Regions from separate parts of the Homo sapiens genome. Here all the other regions are linked to region 4. The links are contacts of gene promoters, found by promoter capture Hi-C in human tissues and cell types (Jung and others, 2019). All regions are on one chromosome and are shown on one strand. The core of a region is centred on a gene start or on the middle of the fragment in contact, and the rest is flanking DNA. Distances in the headings are between cores, read along the strand shown. Region 1 overlaps ZMAT4 (zinc finger matrin-type 4). Region 2 has its middle 98 kb from the start of ZMAT4. Region 3 has its middle 76 kb from the start of ZMAT4. Region 4 holds the start of ZMAT4 (zinc finger matrin-type 4).

The links. The method cuts DNA at HindIII sites, captures the fragments that hold promoters and counts their contacts. A contact is called where the count stands out against the background at its distance.
Region 1: a contact is called between a fragment that was not itself captured here and the fragment with the promoter of ZMAT4 in region 4, in 2 of the 25 tissues and cell types used here (dorsolateral prefrontal cortex and pancreas).
Region 2: a contact is called between a fragment that was not itself captured here and the fragment with the promoter of ZMAT4 in region 4, in 2 of the 25 tissues and cell types used here (hippocampus and thymus).
Region 3: a contact is called between a fragment that was not itself captured here and the fragment with the promoter of ZMAT4 in region 4, in 4 of the 25 tissues and cell types used here (H1 embryonic stem cells, bladder, heart right ventricle and 1 more).

Annotation. Positions count from the first base shown.
Region 1 is chr8:40,824,792-40,829,932 of GRCh38, reverse strand. ZMAT4 (zinc finger matrin-type 4) reads left to right here. Exons shown (of 7, transcript NM_024645.3): 2 at 4,253-4,358. The coding sequence starts at 4,257. Among named protein-coding and RNA genes, the nearest start is that of ZMAT4, 70 kb to the left of the region's middle. The HindIII fragment of the contact is 5,149 bases long and covers 723-5,141 here.
Region 2 is chr8:40,993,785-40,998,377 of GRCh38, reverse strand. No RefSeq gene overlaps it. Among named protein-coding and RNA genes, the nearest start is that of ZMAT4, 98 kb to the right of the region's middle. The HindIII fragment of the contact is 6,921 bases long and covers 1-4,593 here.
Region 3 is chr8:40,971,846-40,976,394 of GRCh38, reverse strand. No RefSeq gene overlaps it. Among named protein-coding and RNA genes, the nearest start is that of ZMAT4, 76 kb to the right of the region's middle. The HindIII fragment of the contact is 6,467 bases long and covers 1-4,549 here.
Region 4 is chr8:40,895,432-40,900,281 of GRCh38, reverse strand. It overlaps ZMAT4 (zinc finger matrin-type 4), which reads left to right and starts at 2,456. Exons shown (of 7, transcript NM_024645.3): 1 at 2,456-2,599. The HindIII fragment of the contact is 9,161 bases long and covers 1-4,850 here.

The DNA of each region.
Region 1 (5,141 bases), core at 2,048-4,547, 71 kb after region 4:
TTAAATTATTCCAAATTAACCCCACCTATGCCCCTCCTATTATCTTCTCATGCTTAGTGGTAGTAAGATTTTTCTCTGTGCCAGGGAAAAGAATTAGCTTCTGAGTTGGAACTCATTTCTCTCCACTCTAATCCTATCCATCCTCAAATTTTCAACCCTAGTAGAACTTTCTTGAAGAGATTCTTGATAATCCTTTCTGTCTTCTCAAATCCTATATCACTTTCCATCCCCCAAGTTCTGTTGGAATTAGTTGCCTGTGCCTTAGGTGTTGGTGTGTGTATGTCTCTTCTTACTCAGTAGCTCAGCAAGATTTGGAAGACAGGGGTTGTGCCTCTGTTATCCCTGAGCCTCACTCATGCTAGATTTCCCCAAACCATTATAGAATCAATAAAAGCACTCCTCCTTGATGCTTCCTTTATTCCTGATACCTAGATGCACCTCTGAGCCTCACACCATCACTGCTATACACATGGATCTGTAGGAACTCAGACCCCCGGACAGCACGTGAAAATGTGACCAGACTCCCTGCTCTAGTACTGCGTCCACATCGGGTGGAGGCCTCTTACCTCCATTGCAGATAGTGCCAACCTCTGTGAGTACTGGAGAGTGATGAGAGGTCATTTAGATCCTCCAGTGGTTGCTTGGCAATGTGCCTGCCTTTGCAATGTGCCTTTGCAATGTGCTGGGCCTGGGAGTACAGATGGTGCTTTCTTTCAGATCTGTTTCAGACCCAGGAAATCAAATTCCTGTCTTCCCCTACTCTTGTATCCCTCCTCAGAATGTCCCAAGGCCTCATGGCACAGCACAATACGAATGTTTCCAGGGGGAGGTCACTAGACACTGGATCTGATGGGACAGATTGGACTGACCAGTAAGTGATCAGTGGCTCTGTCTCTACTCCAGTTGCTGGAGTAGCGCGTGGGCTCCTCAGGACCATGGACAAGGCTAAAAAACTGGAAATTTTTTTTTTTTTTCCTTTTTCTTACCAGCTGTCTTGGTGAAGACAGTGAAGGCCAGTGAAGCTAAAATCCTCTTCTAAACAAACCAGGGGAGGGGAGCAAGTGACATCCTCCCTTCTTGGGAATTCCAGTCTCTGCATGATAAATCGGACCCTCTGGTTGTCTAAAGTGACCTACATGGACTGCGCTCTCTTTTTCTGGAGGGAAAGCCCTCATGTACAAAACAGGCTGACACTTGTCCACTAATTGCCTCCCACTGGAATGTGACTTGTTCAGATATTCCACTCAGGTGTCATCGATTTCAGAGGGGTCCTTATTGCCTTTTAAAAAATTGCATATGGACTTGTTCAAATCAATATTCTTATATAAAACAGTGGAAAAAGCCAAGATATTTTCTCTTCCCTTGAATTTTTTTTAGTATACACATTTTATATTCTGCCTTTAAAGCTATTTCTGTTGCACAGCTGCTTTACCGAGACTCAGACTCCTACGGGCCTGCTTGGTCCGACACGTACCTTGAATATCCTTTCACAGTGTTTGATTTTTGCAGTTGGTTGTATAATGAGGAAGGAGTGTGCAGTGAGTTTGGAGATTCCTATTAACCAGGTCATCCGTGAATCTATTTTTGTGTGCTTCTTCATTAGAAATAGCAGGGAACATGATAATATTTAAACACAACCACTTATAGGAGCTTGGCTTAAAAAATATACCTTAGTAAGTTTTCTTTTCCCATTAGACATTTCAAAATGTTGTACTCCAGTTCTTCATCATCAAAACATCTTTTCTTCATTTACATTCTGGGACATGAATGGAGACCATTACAAATGACTATGATATTGTGGGTTGGCACTGGAATTGGCAATCCTTTGCCTCATGTAGACCATCTCCGGAGTGCCCGCATTCTGTTCTTGGTCTTGCTTTTGAAGATGGACTATAATGAAATAGACTCAGGGCAAGATGATGAGGCTGGGTAGGACTTGGAAGTAGATAGAAGAGTGTTATCTTCAGACACTCAAGGGAGGATATCTCATGAAAAAATGGAGACTGGTGTGGTGCCATGTTGTACCTAATGACAGAATCACTGAATGAAAACTACGGTGGGACAGATTTTAATTCAACCTAAGAAAAACTTAACAACTAGAGCTTCTGCCCTCTCTGGAACAGGTTGCCTTGTGGGGGAGGAGGTGAACCTGCAGGCACAGCAGGTGCTAGACTCCAGGCCAATTGGGCCACCTGCCAGGTGTGGTCCTTTTTGAAATAACAGGCCCATATCAACCATGAGACACAGTGGTACCTGGCATAACTATTGCTTGCTGGGGGCATTGAAAAACCACAGGCATTATTGTCTCTTAGGAGCAGAAACTGTGAATCCTTTTGAATTGCTGAAGACAAATGCCCTGAATGAGCCACTAGAGCCAGGGCCAAGGACAGAACGTGAGATTGGAGTACTTGAGGCAGACATCCTTTTATTTCAGGCAGATACTTTATGAATGTGGTCTGGTTATTTAGATCATTTCAAAAATCACCTAAAGTGAACCACAGTTCACTTTACTTTACACAGTTCACTGTTGCATTGTTCAGGACTTGGCCAACATCTTGCCAACATCAGGATGTTATTAAAAATATACTACTGATCCCTTTCAAATGCAGAGAGTTTTACGGTTGATATAGCACTTTCTCATATATTTCTCCCTGTGATCTTCACTATCACTTTCTTAGAAGGCATGGTAAATATTATTATCTCAATTTTTATATGGGGGAAACTGAGGTATGGAGCATTGAGTGACTCATCCAATGCCATGTGGTAGCATCAGACCTAGGATGGATCTAGCTTGTGGAAATTGGAATCATGCAAGCGAGGCCATATTTTTGGCTATGCAAATGACTAGCAATGTAACTTTGGACTGTCTTATAGGTAAGATGATGGTGGTGAAATAAGATAAAGTCCAAAGTGCCTACCATATTGCTGTTGTCTGAGATTCTTTTGCCTCTTCATACAGCATGCTGTCTGCCATGGTCTTTACTTCTTGCTTGACGGGTAGGAGGTGAAACAAGTGGAGTTTGTGGGCTGGGTGAAGGAATCGGATGCACTGGGGTGTGTTTCCAGGGTGGTAACATGAGATCCTTCAGCTGCCATAAGATCCGTTTCCGACAGATCGCTTTCAGAAGCTTGAGATCCTTGGCTGCATTTTGATTCCGGGTTTGGAATTTGAGAATATGTTTATTTACTTTGTGGGATCATTTGTGGTGTGCGGTGGTGGAGGTGGCCTTTATGAATTCAACCACCCTAAATGGAGAAGAGTCAGCTTGAATAGTGAGGTCTCCCCGTGTTGCAAAGTATGGGGTTACAAGGAAAGTTATAGTTTAGTCTGATTGTATTTTTTAATTTTCTAAGTGCAACTATTTAACTCTAAACTAGATTTTATACCGCTTAAAGGCTCTAGACAAAGCTAACTTCTTCCTTGACTACAAAAGTAATATGTGATTGTTGAAGAAAAATTTAAAAATGAAGAAAATTGCAAAAGCAATTTTCTGTCATTTCCCAAAGATAAGTGCTATTAAAATTATGTTATAATTTCCTGGAATGTTTTTTAATGCATCTATACATATTTTAAAACAAATTTTGTATAATGCTATATGTACTTAAAAATCTCTTTTGTTAATGGTAAACCTTTTCCTAATGTTCCCTGAAAGAATAATTTATCTGAATTTGGATTTGGAAGCCACATAGTTTTCTAGTGTGATGATATATCAAAGTTCATTTAACCCACTTTCTATTGTTGGATATATTAGGTGCTTACAACATTTAATTAACATATAAATATATATAACATGCAAAAATATCTCACATAAATCCTTTTTAAGAATTTTTAGTTTTGTAGAGACAGAATCTCTCTATGTTGCCCATGCTGGTCTCAAACTCTTGGCCTCAAGTGATGCTCCCACCTCGGCCTCCCAAAACACTGGGACTACAGGCGTGAGCCACGGTGCCCTGCCCTCACATAAACTCTTGACAAGGCATTAGATATAAGTCTGGCTTGTTCAACAGAAAAACTATAGCTGGATTTCTATTTTTTAGGGTAAAGCAACTCTGTTGGGCATTTGTGAGAAAACTATAACCTATGCACATATTATGGTTAATCGATATGATAACGTCAAGAGTGTAGGGAGATCCACCCCTCTGTCACCATTGTCAGACCTGTTACTGTGATCCTGGCTTTTCATACGGTTAATATCTTGCATAAACATCAAAGCAGTGGACTCATTTTTCTTTTCTGTTGATTCTCTTGTAGCCTGATGAAGTCCTCCGATATTGATCAGGATTTATTCACAGACAGTTACTGCAAGGTGTGCAGTGCACAGCTGATCTCCGAATCGCAGCGTGTGGCCCACTACGAGGTAAGGACAGCGTTTCCCACTCTGTTTGCAAATGTAGGAGGGAGCAGCCCGGGTCATTGTTGTAGGACTCCAGGATCCTCCTTCTGGACTTGGGGCACATTTGAAGAACCACAGGACTTGAGCCTGTACAGTCTGAGGTCAAGGCCAGGACAAGTGTATATGTGTGGGGTTGGGAGTGAGGGTTGGGGATGTCATTGTCAGACTCTGGCTGCTTCCCAGATCCTTTTTTTAAAATTTGTATCTCAGCCCCTGGAGACTCTGCTTGGGCTTTCTCTACTTGTTAAATCTGTCACTGTGCATCCACAAAGTTCCTTTCAGGGATCCAGGGTGCAATGCATTGTGCCAGCTCCTGTCTCCACCTATGACCCCAAAGATAAGCTCAGAAGACCTTTGTTAAACACTGTAGGGAAAGACAGCAGCAAGTAATGAAGCAGCCGTGGGCCACTTCCTCCCTGAAAATTTCTTCCACCTGATGGCCAATACCCAACATGTGCTTATCACAATCAAGATGCCTTCTGCAGAGTTATAACCAAGTCTTAAAGTGCAAATACTCTTCAAAGTCATAAATTAGTGGCACTGGCTGTTTAGAATCGGGGAGCAACAGACCACTTTTTGATCCTCTATTGGGAGCAGAGGATGAGAGGAGAGAGGTTGGCCTGTGTCCGAGGATGAGGAAGAAATGAGGTGCTGTGGATTGAGTAAAGAGAACTGGGAGATCCCAGGATGCTGAGAGCTACTAGGGCATGTTCTGTTTTCAAAAGAACATATACTAGTAGGAACATG
Region 2 (4,593 bases), core at 1,184-3,683, 98 kb before region 4:
AAGCTATTAGGCAAGAAAAAGAAATAAAATCTATCCAGATTGAAAAAAAAGAAGTAAAACTAACCTATTTATAGATGATATGATCTTGTACAAAAATTTCTAAGGAATACACAAAAAATATTAGCACTAATAAATGTGTTCATCAGTGTTTCAGGATGCAAGATCAATGTCATAGGCAGAATGATGCTCCCCCAGTCCCAGAGATGTCCATGACCTAATCTCAGAACCTGTGAATATGTCAGGTTACATGTCCAAGGGGATTGAAGGTTGCAGAGTTGAATTAAGACTGCTAATCAGATGATTTTTAACATAGGGAGATTGCCTTGGATTATCAGGAGATCCAATGTAGAGATGAGGGTCCTTCCAAGTGGAGGATGGAGGCAGTGGAGGAGGTCAGAGTGATGGAACATGGCAAGGTGTGACCTTATGTGGAGGGAGGAAGGGACCATAAACCAAGAATCCAGAGACTGAAAAAGGTAAAACAAGAGTTTCTCCCTGACAGCCTCCAGAGAGAAATGTAGCCCTTCTGCCACCGATGAGACCATATTGGACCCTTGACCTGTAGAACTGTCAGATAATACATTTGCATTATTTAAAGCCCCAAGTTAGTGGTAATTTGTACAGCAGCAATAGAAAACTAATAACATGAGCATACAAAAATCAATTGTATTTATATACACCGACCGTGAACAATCTGAAAATGAAATTAAGGCAGCTATTTCATTTACAGTTGCATTGAAAATAATAAAATACTTAGAAACAAATTTACAAAAGGTGTGTAAGGCTTGTACATTGAAAATCAGGAAGTATTCTTAAAAGAAATTAAATAGAAGTCTGGGCATGGTGGCTCACACCTGTAATCCCAGCACTTTGGGAGGCAGAGGCAGGCAGATCACGAGGTAAGGAGATTGAGCCCATCCTGGCTAACACAGGTGAAACCCCGTCTCTACTAAAAATACAACAAAAATTAGCGAGGCATGGTGGCGGGCGCCTGTAGTCCCAACTACTTGGGAGGCAGAGGCAGGAGAATGGTGTGAACCCGGGAGGCGGAGCTTGCAGTGAGCTGAGATTGCGCCACTGCACTCCAGCCTGGGGGACACAGCAAGATTCTGTCTCAAAACAAAAAAAAAAAAAAAAAAAGAAAAAAGAAATTAAACAGAAAGATATCCTGTGTTTGTGGATTGGAAAACTTAATATTGCTAAGATAGCAATACTACCTAAATTGATCTACAGATTCAACACATACCTCTCAAAATACACTGGCTTCTTTGCAGAAATTAATGAAGTGATCCTCGTGTTCATATGGATATGCAAGGAACCCAGAGTAGCCAAAACAATTTTGAAAAAGAAGAACATAGTTGGAAGACTCGCATCCAAATTTCTAAACTTATACAAAACTACAGTAATCCATAGTGTAGTACTTGCATAAAGACAAACATAGACTAGTAGAAAATAACTGAGGACTCAGAAATAAATCCATAAATTTATAGTCAATTGAGTTTTGACAAGGATGCTAAGATAATTCAGCGGGGGAAAGAACAGTGTTTTAAACAAACGGGGTTAGGGCAATTGGGTATCCACATGCAGAAGAATAAAGTTGGACCCCTTACTTACACCATCGACAAAAATTAGCTCAAAATGGATCATATGGACAGGGATGATGGCTTATGCCTCTAATCCCAACCCTTTGGGAGGTTGAGCGGGGAGGATCACTTGAGGCTAGCAGACCAGCTTGGGCAACATAGCAAGACACCATCTCTACGAAAAATACAAAAGTTAGCTGGGTGTGGTGGCACATACATGTAGTCCCAGCTACTCAGGAGGCTGAGGTGGCAGAGTTGCTTGAGTGCAGGAGTTCCAGGCTGCAGTGAGCAGTGGTTGCATCATTGCACTCCAGCCTGGGCAACAGAGTACGAACCTCTCTCTCTTTCTCTTTTTTTTTTTCTCTCTCTCTCACACACACACACGAAAAAAAAAAGAAAAAGAAAAAAAAGAAATTGAGGGAAATAAAAGATTAAAATCCCGATAGAAAAATGAGAAAAATAATGAACAAAGAGTTCACAAAAATCATAAATAAGTGACCTCTAAGCTTATAAAAGATATACAACTTCACGGTAAAAAGAAGAATGCAAATTAAAACTGCGTGGGGATATCATTTCTCACCTATGGATTTGGCAAACATGCGAAAGATTTTTTAAAAGCACTCCTTTGGCAAGGCTGTGGGGAAACCGGCCCTGTCATACAGGGCTGATGAGCCTGCGAAATAGGACAGGTCCTAGGACGGGAAATTGGAAAACAGCAAACAGAAAATAGCATTTACAGTTTGACCAGCAACCCCACTTCTAAGAATTCTCTCTGAAAATGTATCTTTACTCATCACACGTTTAAAACAATCTGCTACGCATAAAGTTATTTATTACTGGAATTATTTGTAATGACAAACTGTTGGAAATGAACTAAAAGCCAATCCATAGGAGACTGGTTGAGTAAACTGTGGCTTATCCACATAATGGGAGACTGTTGACACCATCATGGAAATGAGGAAGATTTCTCTGAAAGAACACCGAGTCTTCTTCAAGATATATCATTAGCAGAAAAAAGAAAAATGTGAAAGTTGCATATGTTTTATTAACTTTTGTGTAAGAAACACGGGGAAACTAAATCGTGTGTGTGTGTGTGTGTGTGTGTACATTTGCTAATTTTTGCAAAGAAGAAATACAGGAAGGATAAACTTGATCCTAATAAAAGGGTGGATTTCCATGAATGACATGCTGGTGGTCTTGCATTTTTTTTTTTGTTTTTGAGACGGAGTCTTTCTCTGTTTCCTGTTCTGGAGTGCAGTGGCATGATCTCAGCTCACTGCAGCCTTGACCTCCCGGGCTCAAGTGATCCTCTCACCTCAGCCTCCTGAGTAGTGTGTGCCATCATGCCTGGCTACTTTTTGTACTTAGTGTGTAGAGATGAAGTCTTGCCATGTTGCCCAGGCTGGTCTCGAACTCCTGGCCTCAAGCTATCCTATCACCTCAGCCTCACAAAGTGCTGAGATTACAGGTGTGTCAGTGCCTGGCCTTTCTATTCTCTTCTTTTCTTTTTTTTGGTAGATTTGAAATTTTTAGAAAATAATGTTAAAAATTAAAAGAACAAAATCACCACAAAAGCCCAGCCTACCAGGGGTGTTATGTCAGGGAAGAGAAAGTGTCCTGAGGTTTTGCCTTGCTGATTGGCAAGGAAAGCAGCGTGGGGTGAACTGTTGTCATGTGTCTGGGGACAAACACTTTCTAAAATTAATCACCTGAGGGTCTGCTGCATTCATCAGCAACGTTCCTGCAGCAGTCATAAGTCTAGTCTCGGCTTCCCTCCCTCCCTCGGGCCTTTTGTCCTTCCTCCCTCTGTCTTTTTTTTTTCCCTTTTATTTAACATTTATTAGGTGCCTGTTATTTATCAGGGTCTGTGTTAGGCTCTAAGGATGCAGAGATGGAAGAGATACAGTTCCTTCCTTTAAGAGGCACATAATCTACGGGGGCAAATGGGGAAGCAACAGATAAGTATAATTCTCACTGGCATGCGCTGTAGGAGAGGAAATTGAGGGTGCTCTGAGAAACCAGGAGCGGGACTGTGTCTCTTTCATCTGATCCTCATCCACCAGGGCTGTCTCGGGGCCACCACCCTGATTCTTTGTACTGCAGGAAGAGTGCCAGCCACCCCAAAAGTGGACCACCAAGCCAGGTGGTCGGGAGGCATGTGCAGAAGTGTGTCCACTTGACCTCACAGGGTTCTCCCATATTTCCTGCAGGTTCCCTGCAGAACCTTTCCCTCAGCTTTTTCACTTGGGACTCGGGTTCCGTCCTGCACGGCCTGTGCTGGCCCATCCCTCATTTCCTCAGAGACAACTCTGGCCTGTCTATGGTGCCTCTCCTAGCTGATCTGAAAGGGGGCTTGGAGGTGATCGCAGCAGTGGCAGAGCCCCCCTACAGAGGGAACTACCCTGCTACCTTCCAGATAGGGTCTCCGGAGACGTTACCTCCTTTGTCTATTACTTATATATAGAGAGAACACAGCACAAGAAGTGGTAAACATCCCCACCATCCTGTTGCTTTTCCTTTCCCTTTTGTTTGTTAAAAAAAAAAAAAAAAGAAGAAGAAGAAGGAACCGGGTAATCTGTAAGTTCCCTTCTGATAATCTATGGTTCTTTTATCAAGAGGAATTATCTAGGGCAGGGGGACTCTGAGCCCGGGACTTGATTTTTCAACCGAAGTAAACGGCGAATTCTTGATATCCCTTTGATGGTGCAAGCTGAGAAAGTAGACAGAGAATGGTTTCTTGCTGATCATCGTTTTGAGGAGCCCTTTGCTGTGTTTTGACTTTGTGTTTTGGCTCAGAACGTCCCTTTGTCCTTGTGGAAGCGAGATTTTTGGACAAGGGGCTGCAATGCCACCGTCTTCCACATGGTGGCAGGTTTTGCCTGGAAAAGGAGCACCTGAATGGCGTGGGTTCACAGAATTAGGTTCCTTGACAAATGTCATTTATATTGATTGCTTTTGTTAATGCATTAGAGAGAATGTGTGCTCAGGATACATTCCTGGTAATGTTTAT
Region 3 (4,549 bases), core at 161-2,660, 77 kb before region 4:
AACCCCCTTTGTCATAGACAGGAGCTACCTGGTGCTTCTTCCAAAAGGGAGCTAGTGAGGGGCAGGAGGCGGTGACCCCGAGGGGAGCAGGAGGCTGGCAGCCCCTCTGGGCATGTGGCCACCATTGGTTTATCCCTGGACCCACCCAGGCTTCTTGGGTTCTGGGTCCCTCGGCACCTGGAGGGTTCAGTCATAGTTGGGGGCAGTGATATAGTTTGGATATTTTTCCCTGCCCAAATCTCATGTTGAAATATAATCCCCAGTGTTGGAGGTGGGGTCCAGTGGTAGGTGTTTGGGTCATGGAGGCAAATCCCCCATGGCTTTGTGCTGTTTCCATGATAGTGAGTGAATTCTGGCGCGATCTGCTTGTTTAAATGTGTTTGGCACCCCCTAGCCCACCGACTCACACTCTTTTGCTCTCGCTTTCACCATGTGAGGTGGTGGCTCCCTTTTCACCTTCTGTCATGAGTACAAACTCCCAGAGGCCTTTCCAGAAGCCAAGCAGGTGCCACCGCCATGCTTGTACAGCATGCAGAACTGTGAGCCAATTAAACCTCTTTTCTTTATAAATTACCCAGCCTCAGGTATTTCTTTATAGCAACATAAGAACAGCTAACACAAGCAGCTTAATAGCTCACCAGATGACTGTGGAAACCTCCATTTCGAGAGCACAAGGAGGGCCGGGCACGATGGCTCATGCCTGTAATCCCAGCACTTTGGGAGGCCAAGGTGGGCAGATCACTTGAGGTCAGGAGTTTGAGACCAGCCTGGCCAACATGGTGAAACCCCATCTTTACTAAAAATACAAAAATTAGCCTGGTGTGGTGGCATGCATCTGTAATCCCAGCTACTTGGGAGGCTGAGGCAGGAGAATTGCTTGAACCTGGGAGGTGGAGGTTTCATTGAGCCAAGATTGAGCCACTGAACTCAGGCCTGGGTGACAGAGAGAGACTCTGTATCAAAAAAAAAAAAAAAGTACTCAAAGCACAAGGAAGCGTTTTTCAGGGCTCTGTGTCTGTAGGAGTTAGGGCTGGTCTGGGGGAGGGCAGTGCTCATGGGTACCTAGGCACTGACCTACCTTTTAGAACTGTTTGGATTCTTTCCAAAGAGACAGCCCCAGCACCAATACCTTAGCTACATGTGGACATTCCTGTGGGACAGTGGGACCGCTGAGCGTGCCGCTGGGTCCTCACATGGTCCACTCTGTGGATGGTACTGGGCAAGTTTGATAAGGCTTCAGCATGAGTCGCCTTCCACCTGAATCTGTGTCCCCAAGAGCAGCCTTTCCTTGTAGGTCAGAGTCTCCCCAGCATCTGAGAACCAGGCCTTGATTTGATGAAACTCTAAAGAGTTCTGTTCTTTCCTGGCCCCAGAAGGATTACAATTCATTTCTGTCGATCTCTGACACCATCAGATTCCTCCTACCCCAGGTGTAGAACTGCCAGTCCCCAAAATACAGATGTATTCTAAATGATCAGTCAATGAGCTCTCTGTTCATCAGGAGTGTAGGGCATCTGCTGTGTTAACTAAGTCTCTTTTGATTGTAAGCAACAGAAATAGACTTTAACTATTTGGTGGGTGGAGGGGAGATTCATTCGAAATGTCTCATAGCTGGAGACTGCTGGCATCAGCCAAAGCTGTTCTTCCTTCTTCCATAGCAACGGAGTTGAAGCAGGGTGTGGCTGCCCAGCCAAGGACATGGCCCAGCCCCACTCGTGCAGCTAGGTGTGGCTGATGTTCAAGTTCCTGCCAGGGAGCATGAGCAGAAGTTTTAGGTGTCACTTCCAGGCCTTGCCCCAAAGACTTTGCAGGTTCACTTCTGCATCTTTTCCCCTCCTTGTTTCTGGCTGGAATCATTTCAGCCCCAGCTGCTCTGACAGGCACTTAGTGTTGAAGGAGGCAGAGCTGCTGGCGGTCAGGGCCGATAAATGACTGCATGGAACCGAGCAGTCCCGATGGACTGTTATTTGCAATAAATAAACATGGAGTTTGTTTGAGCCATTACATTTGGGGGCCCTTTGTTTTAGCAGTTTAACCTTTACCCTAATGATTTCAGGGGACTGAATTGAAAGAATTGCTGAATAACTAAGCCTCAGGAAGGCAGGGATGGGGCAGCTTTGATGTCTCAAGCGACAGGATTTATAGAGCTAACTCTCTCAGATGCTGCCAGGAAGCCAGCTCTCTTTATTGTCTGTCACTACTGTGTCCTTCCATTCAAGTTTCAGATTCTCACAAGATGATTTGGCTGACCCAGCTTGGGTCAGGTGTCTATGCTGGGATCTATAAGCTATGGCCGGAGAGAGCAGGTGCTTATGGAAATGTGAACACTGAGGCCCTTCACCTCTTGCTTTTTACAGTCTTTTCTGGAAATGGGAACACTGAGCAAGTGTGTCTCATACCATGTATATGTCAGAATCAGATGAGGCAATGCACACAGAGGGAGGACCAGGAGTTTGGATTTCAGTGGGGGAGACAGGGAATTGAATAGACAATTATAAAGAGGTAAGAGTTAGGTTTCAGATTTTCATGGGCTATCATGAGAGCTCAAAGGAGAGGCAACTAACAGGTTAGAAGAAGGGGTGTAGGAAGTCTATATTGTTTGAAAGTGGGCTTGCTCTCTTGGAAGAGGTCAGGCCGACTGGAGCTAAAATATCAGCACCAGTGAGTGGCCTGGGGTCAGCTACTCAGATATTTAACCATTCTGAACACCTCCTCATTTGTAAAATTAAGATGATAATACAAAATCCTGTGTGGCAAGGCATAGCTCTAGAATGAGTAAGAAGGGGAAGTGGTAGACCAGGAGGGACAAGAGGTGAAATCATTGACCTGTCTGGGTGCTATTTGTGGGTAGATAGGCCTAGACTCTCAATTTTCCATAATGAATTTGTTGTCGATGACTATTCTGGATCTGTATCCCTTCTGGATACAGTCTGTGATGGTCGGTTTTATGTTTCAAATTGACTTCTATAGTATCTCATTATTAAGCCAAACACTAATCTAGGGGTTGCAAAGGTATTTTATAGATGGGGTTAACTTGGACAATCAGTTGACTTTAAGTAGAGGAGATTGTCCTTCATAATGTGGGTGGGCCTCATCCAATGAAAGCAAAACTGAGGTTTTCCTAAGAAAGAGGAAATTCTGCCTCCACACTGCAGCATCAACTCCTACCCAAGAGTTTCCAGTCTGCCCTGTGAATTTCAGACTTGTGAGCCCCCGCAATTGTGGGAACCAATTCCTTGATTATGTCTCTTTCTCTATATATATAGATCCAATGCATCTTCCTCTGTTTCTACGTGCAAACACACACACACACACACAGACACACACACACACACTAGGGGACTTCAAAGAGTTTATGTAAAAATGAATTATAATATAAGACTAAAAATATAAACTTAGTTTCTCAACATAAGCTCCATTAAGGTCAAGACACTTTTGAAAGTGATGATACCAGCCGTTTAGTCCATCCCTAAAGAACTGAGGGTCCTGGGAATGTAACCATGTCAATGCAGTCTTTTTTGTACATAATTAACTGAAGAAAAATGCCTGTCTTTTACAGATTTTTAAAGATTAGGAAACAAAAAGAAGAAAGAAGGATCCAAATCAGTACTCTAAGGTGGATGCCTAATAATCTCCCATTGAAACTCCTTGTTTATTGAAAGGAATGAGCAAGAGCATTGCCGTGGCGAAGGACTATCTGGCGAAGCTTTCCTGGGTGTTTTTCTGTTAAAGTTTTGGCTAACGTTCTCAAAACTCTCTTGCAATAAGTGGATGTTACCATTCTTTGGCCCTCCTGAAAGTTGTTTTTTTTGGTTTGTTTTTTGAGACAGGGTCTCGTTCTGTCACTCAGGCTGAATTGTAGTGGCACTTATCACAGCTCACTGCAGCCTCCAACTCCTAAGCCCAAGCAATCCTCCTACCTCAGACTCCTATGTAGGTGGGACTACAGGAGTGTGCCAGCATGCCTGGCTAACTTTTAAATTTTTTTTGTAGCAATGAAGCCTTATTTTATTGCCCAGGCTGGTTTTGAACTCCTGGCCTCAAGTGATCTCCCTGCCTCAGCCTCCCAAAGTGCTGGGATTACAGGCATGAGCCACTGTGACTTGCAAGCCCTGCAGAAAGTCAACAGGCAAAATGCCTTCAGCATGCCAAGACACTGTTGCCATGTTCCTTGCTCTTGGCCGGTCTGCTTTTGCTTTGGCTGGACCACAGCCACCTCTCAGTAGCCATTGCTTTGCTTGCTCTTTGTCTTCAGGATCATACTGGTAAGGCCATGTTTCATCTCCTGCTACAGTTCTCTGAAGCAATGGTTGAGGATCTTGATCCCACTTGTCTAAAATTTCCATCGAAAGCTCTGCTGCTGTCTGCAACTGATCTTGGTGCAACAGCTTTGGCACCCATCAAGAGGAAAGTTTGCTCAACTTTAATTATTCAGAGAATTGTGTGAACTGAAGCAGTTGAAATGTCTACGGTGCTGGCTATTGTTTCTGCTGTTAACCATGAGTCCTCTTCAATTAGAACATAAACAAGATAAATTTTTTCCTTTCAA
Region 4 (4,850 bases), core at 1,207-3,706:
AATGAGGGTCGCATGAGGCTTAGGGCTGTGCACCCTGGATGCTTTGAATTGGGTTTTAGTAGTCAGCCCACTTATTGAGTGCTAGGTGCTATCTGTGGAGTGATAAAAATATGCATGATACCATCTCTGTCTTTACAGGGCTTGAAATGTATTTAGGGAAGCCAGGCATGTATGCATGAAATAGAAAGTCACCATACAAGGCAGTGGGGCACCTGCCATTTGCTGCAGAGGACGCAGCTGAAGATAAGGACTACAGCCATTCAAGGCCCCAGGGGAGGCCAGGGCAGGACTGGGACCAGAGCCTCACCAAAGACATGGAGATCCTAGGATAAGAAGGCTGAAGGGTTAGTTTCTGGATCATCTGAAATTTGATATTTTAAAAGCTTTCTTTAAAAGACGCTTTTATAATTCTCTCTTAAAAAATTCAGCCCATTTTGTCCTTTGCCATTTTTGAATTGGGTTATAGGTCTTGTACTTATTGATTTATAAAAGCTCTTTCATTTTAGAAACATTAATAATAAATATTTTACCTAGTTAAGAAAATTTAGCTGCCAAGTGATGTCTTTTCCATATGGTGACAAATACATTAAGGAGAGGGGAAGGTCAAAATTTGTGCTTTATGATTTCTTCTTAATTTTTAAAAATTTTTAATTTTATGGGAACATAGTGGGTGTATATATTTATGGGGTACACGAGATATTTTGATACAGGCATGCAATGTGTAATAATCACATTAGGGTAAATGGGGTATCTGGCACCTCAAGCATTTAGCATTTCCTTTTGTTACAAACAATCCAATTGTACTCTTTCAGTTATTTTAAAATGTACAATATGTTTTGCTGACTGTAATAACCCTGTTGTGCTGTCAAATACCAGATCCTATTCATTCTATCTAACTCTATTTTTGTACCTAGTAACCATTCCACCCCCGCCCCTTCCTAGCCTCTGGTAACCATCATTCTATTCTCTCTGTCCATGAGTTCAATTGTTTTAATTTTTAGCTCTCACAAATGAATGAAAACATGTGAAGTTTGTCTTTCCATGCCTGTTTTATTTCATTTAACAGAATGTCCTCCAGTTCCATCCATGGTGTTGTAAATGACAGGATCTCATTCCTTTTTATGGCTGAATAGTACTCCACTACGCATATGTACCACATTTTCTTCATCTAATTTATCTGTTGATGGACACTTACATTGCTTCCAGATCTTGTCTATTGTGAACAGAGCTGCAATAAACATGGCAGTGCAGGAATCTCTTCAAGATACTGATTTCTTTTTTGGGGGTATATACCTAGCAGTGGGATTGCTGGATCAGATGGTAGCTCTATATTTAGTTTTCTGACAAACCCCAATACTGTTCTCCATAGTGGCTGCATTAATTCACATTCTCACCAGCAATGTAGGAGGGTTCATTCTCTTTTCTTCACATCCTTGCCAGCATTTGTTATTGCCTGTCTTTTGGATAAAAGCCATTTTAACTAGGGTGAGACTTTATGATTTCTTGGTGAACAAGGAAAAGTGTTTAAGCTGTCCCCACCCTTTGATGGGTATGTTCTCTCTTCACGTGCGTAGGTTGTTGATGAAAGTCTAAGCGATTAATTTAAGCCATGTCAGAATAAACCAAAGTGAGGGTCCCAGCAGAATCATTCACTCTAGAATGCTCGGCTTTCTGGACCTCCCAGTGAGAACAGTGAGAAACTCCAGAGTTTTATGGATTTTAAGAATAGCTCTTCTGAGACTCTTTGGACAGGGTGCAAAGGAAAATTGTCTCCTCAGGTTGGGGGATGAGGGGGACTGTGAGATAAAGTACTGATAGATAAACTCCAGGTATGCACCTACTATGCTCCCCAAGCAATCTGCCATGTCCTTCACATGTCCTCCAGGGTGGCCCTGTGAAAAGCATTACTCCATCCCTTCAGCCCTCAACCTTGCTCGGCTTTCTAGAGTCTGTCTCATGCCGGCAGACACCCCATAGTTATTATTCTCTCTGCCCTCAGCAACATTTACCAGTTAGGGGGAAAATAAAGCCAGAAAATTGTTGCTATGGGCTCTGTTTTGTGGAAGTTAAAATGCTAGAGCAAGAATCTGATTGCTTGATAGCTCCATCTCTCTCTCTCTCTCCCTCCTACCCTCCTACCCCCCCACAGTTTCTCCTTCTTTTCCTCTCCCCTCCACCTCCTTCCCCCACCCCGCTCCCCCACATTTTCCTACTCCTCTCCCCTCTCTCCACTGGCCTCCCGGTCCTGCCCCCACATTGGGCTGGAGGAGAGCCTTACAGGTTGTCAATGAAACATGGAATTATTTCCTTTGATGGCTTAGATAATAGTAGGAGCCAAAGCAATGAGTGAGGTCGGCTGAAACCAATGCAGTCCTGCCCGGGACTGGAGAGCCAATCGCAAGAGCAGAGGGCGGGGCGTCGGAGCCAGCAGATAATTGCTAAGTGCATCGCTAGCACAGTTGGTCCGAGCTGCCGAAAGGTCTGGTCGCAGAGACAGGAACGTGTAATCCTCAGCGTGCTCCAGCCCACAGCTTCGCTCTACTGCTCGGCAGGGCAGCTGGCCTCTGGGCACCGGCGGCCCCTCTGCCTCGCGGAAAAGGTACCTCTGCCTGCGTCCCGGGGGTGCAGCGCCTGCGTCTCCATTGCCAGTGGCTTTGCAGTTTAGCCTAGGTGGAGGGATTGCAGAAAGAAAAGTTTCTGGGAGGGAATGTGATAAAGGTGGGAAATCACTGTCTTTTGTTGGGAGGAAAACAAGCGGACAATTTGGGAAACTTCTGCGCTGGCAAGAAATGGGCTTGTTTACTACTCCTAATTAGCTGCGCTCAGGTCTGTCTAAATAGGTCTGGTCTCAGGCTAGGGTGTCTGCAGGGCTGGGGTGGAGATTCGGGTGTGCTGGGTGAAAGAAGTTGGATCCCAGGGTGTGCTGTTTCCTGGTGCACCCATCATGGATAGGCTGGTTCCGAGAGAAACGTGATTGGTTGTTTGTGTTTTCCGCTATAGGGTCTGTCCCCTTCGTATTACCTTGATCTGCCTTCCCCAAACTATTGTGACCTTCAACTGGAGTCCTTCCTCAAACTTCTGCCTCCTTCCTGCCTGTCTCAGTTCATTTTATTTGGTGGAAGGAGACATTCCCCGGGGTGGGTGGGTGAGGATGGTCTATTCTGTTTGACCTGGTGGGCACCTACGTGACAACTTGGTGACACGCCAGCAAAACAGTTCTCAGAGGAGAGGAAATCACATAATTAATTAGCTCCCGAAAACTCTGGAAGACTTTCCAGGCTTGGGGTATCCTGAAAAAAAAAAAAAAAGAAAAAGCCAAAAAACGGGATAGAGAGTTCGGTTTGGTACCATGTGAAGCTTACACCCTTGTCCCCAGAAGGGGTGCCTGGCCCGGAGCATCCCCGCAGCTCTGGGAGGTGGAGGCTGGTGGAGGGGGTGGCTCCGTGTAGGTGCGCAGGTTGTTTTGGTGCACAGGTGCATTTGTGGCAGAGGTGGTGCTGAAGTCACCATCCACACTGCTTCTGCTAACTGCTCTTGAAGTAAAACAGCTCACCCCGGCAGGCAGCTGGTTCAGCCCAGAAGCACCCTTGAGCATTCTAAATCGCGAGACCTCAGGGGCCTCTCTTGCTCTGAGACCCTTGGGAAACTCCTTTCTCCCCCTGCCTCCTCCGCCTTTGGCTTCTGCTAAAGGGAGATATTAGGTAGGTGAGTCACTAGGAAGCAGGGACCCATGGGGAAGCAGGCGATGTGCTTGGTCTCGAACTTTCTTCCTCTTCTGCGAAGGCAGCTTCTGCTTGTGTGCCCACCGCACTTCACCAGTTGCGCTGCCTACCTGCGGGATACTCTGAAGCTGATAGTCTGGGGGTGATCTTCCAAGTCCTAGGGGCATTGAAGAGTTTAGATGATTTTCATCCCTCTGATTTCCGTTAAACCCGCAGCTGGGGAGTTCGATTCCCAGTCCTGACAAGACTGCATGTTCTGGGAGGGATTCTCCAGTGACACCTCTTCCTCAGGGCACCCTTCCACGGAGATGCAGATGACAGTCTTGATTCTCCAGCTCCACAAATCCCTTCCACTTTTTAATTCTTATTTTCTTTAACCACCACAACAGATTCTCCTCCACCTCCTGTAGGCAGCTATTTTGGGTGGGAACTGTGATTATTGAAACTCTATTCACAATGGTTAAAAAAATGCCTGCCCACTTTTTTTTTGGGGGGGGTGTCAAAATACCATCAGCGTTCTCTTCTGTACTTCCTATCTGACAGTAAACAAAACAATTTTGCAGCCCTGCCAATTATAATCTTTTTGTGTTTGGGGGGCCTGGAGCGGAAGCTGAACTTTTCCCAGCCGGTGGGCATGGTTAGTCATGGACGTCGTCCTCTGTGGCCTCTCCAGGGCACGTGACCCCCAGGGAGCCCAGGAGGGGCAGCCCCCAGCACGTGGGGGATCTTGCATGAGAGCACCTTGGTTTTCATGAAGGCAGTAAGGAAACCAGAAAATGCTTTTGAGTTTGAGGATTGCAAAACTGGGGGTTCCCTTTAATTGATGCCAATCTGTTGGATTTCTATCGTGATAGGAAACATTAAAAGTAAGGCATTTGAAACAGCTCCTGAAGGGTGAGTCATGCACAGAGGGAAGAGGCAGTGTGGGGGGAGGGGGCGGAGGGGGCCTTGGAAAGTACAAGTGGGACACGCTGGAGCGCTCGCTTTCCTTCCCTCTGCCTCCTCCTCAATCCTCTTTCTTGTATTTCCCCATTCGGAACAGAGATCATTAAAATAACAACTTTAGACCAAAAAAGGATCCTAGGAGCTGAAAAATAATTGACAAAGTGCAAAACACCCTCATTACAG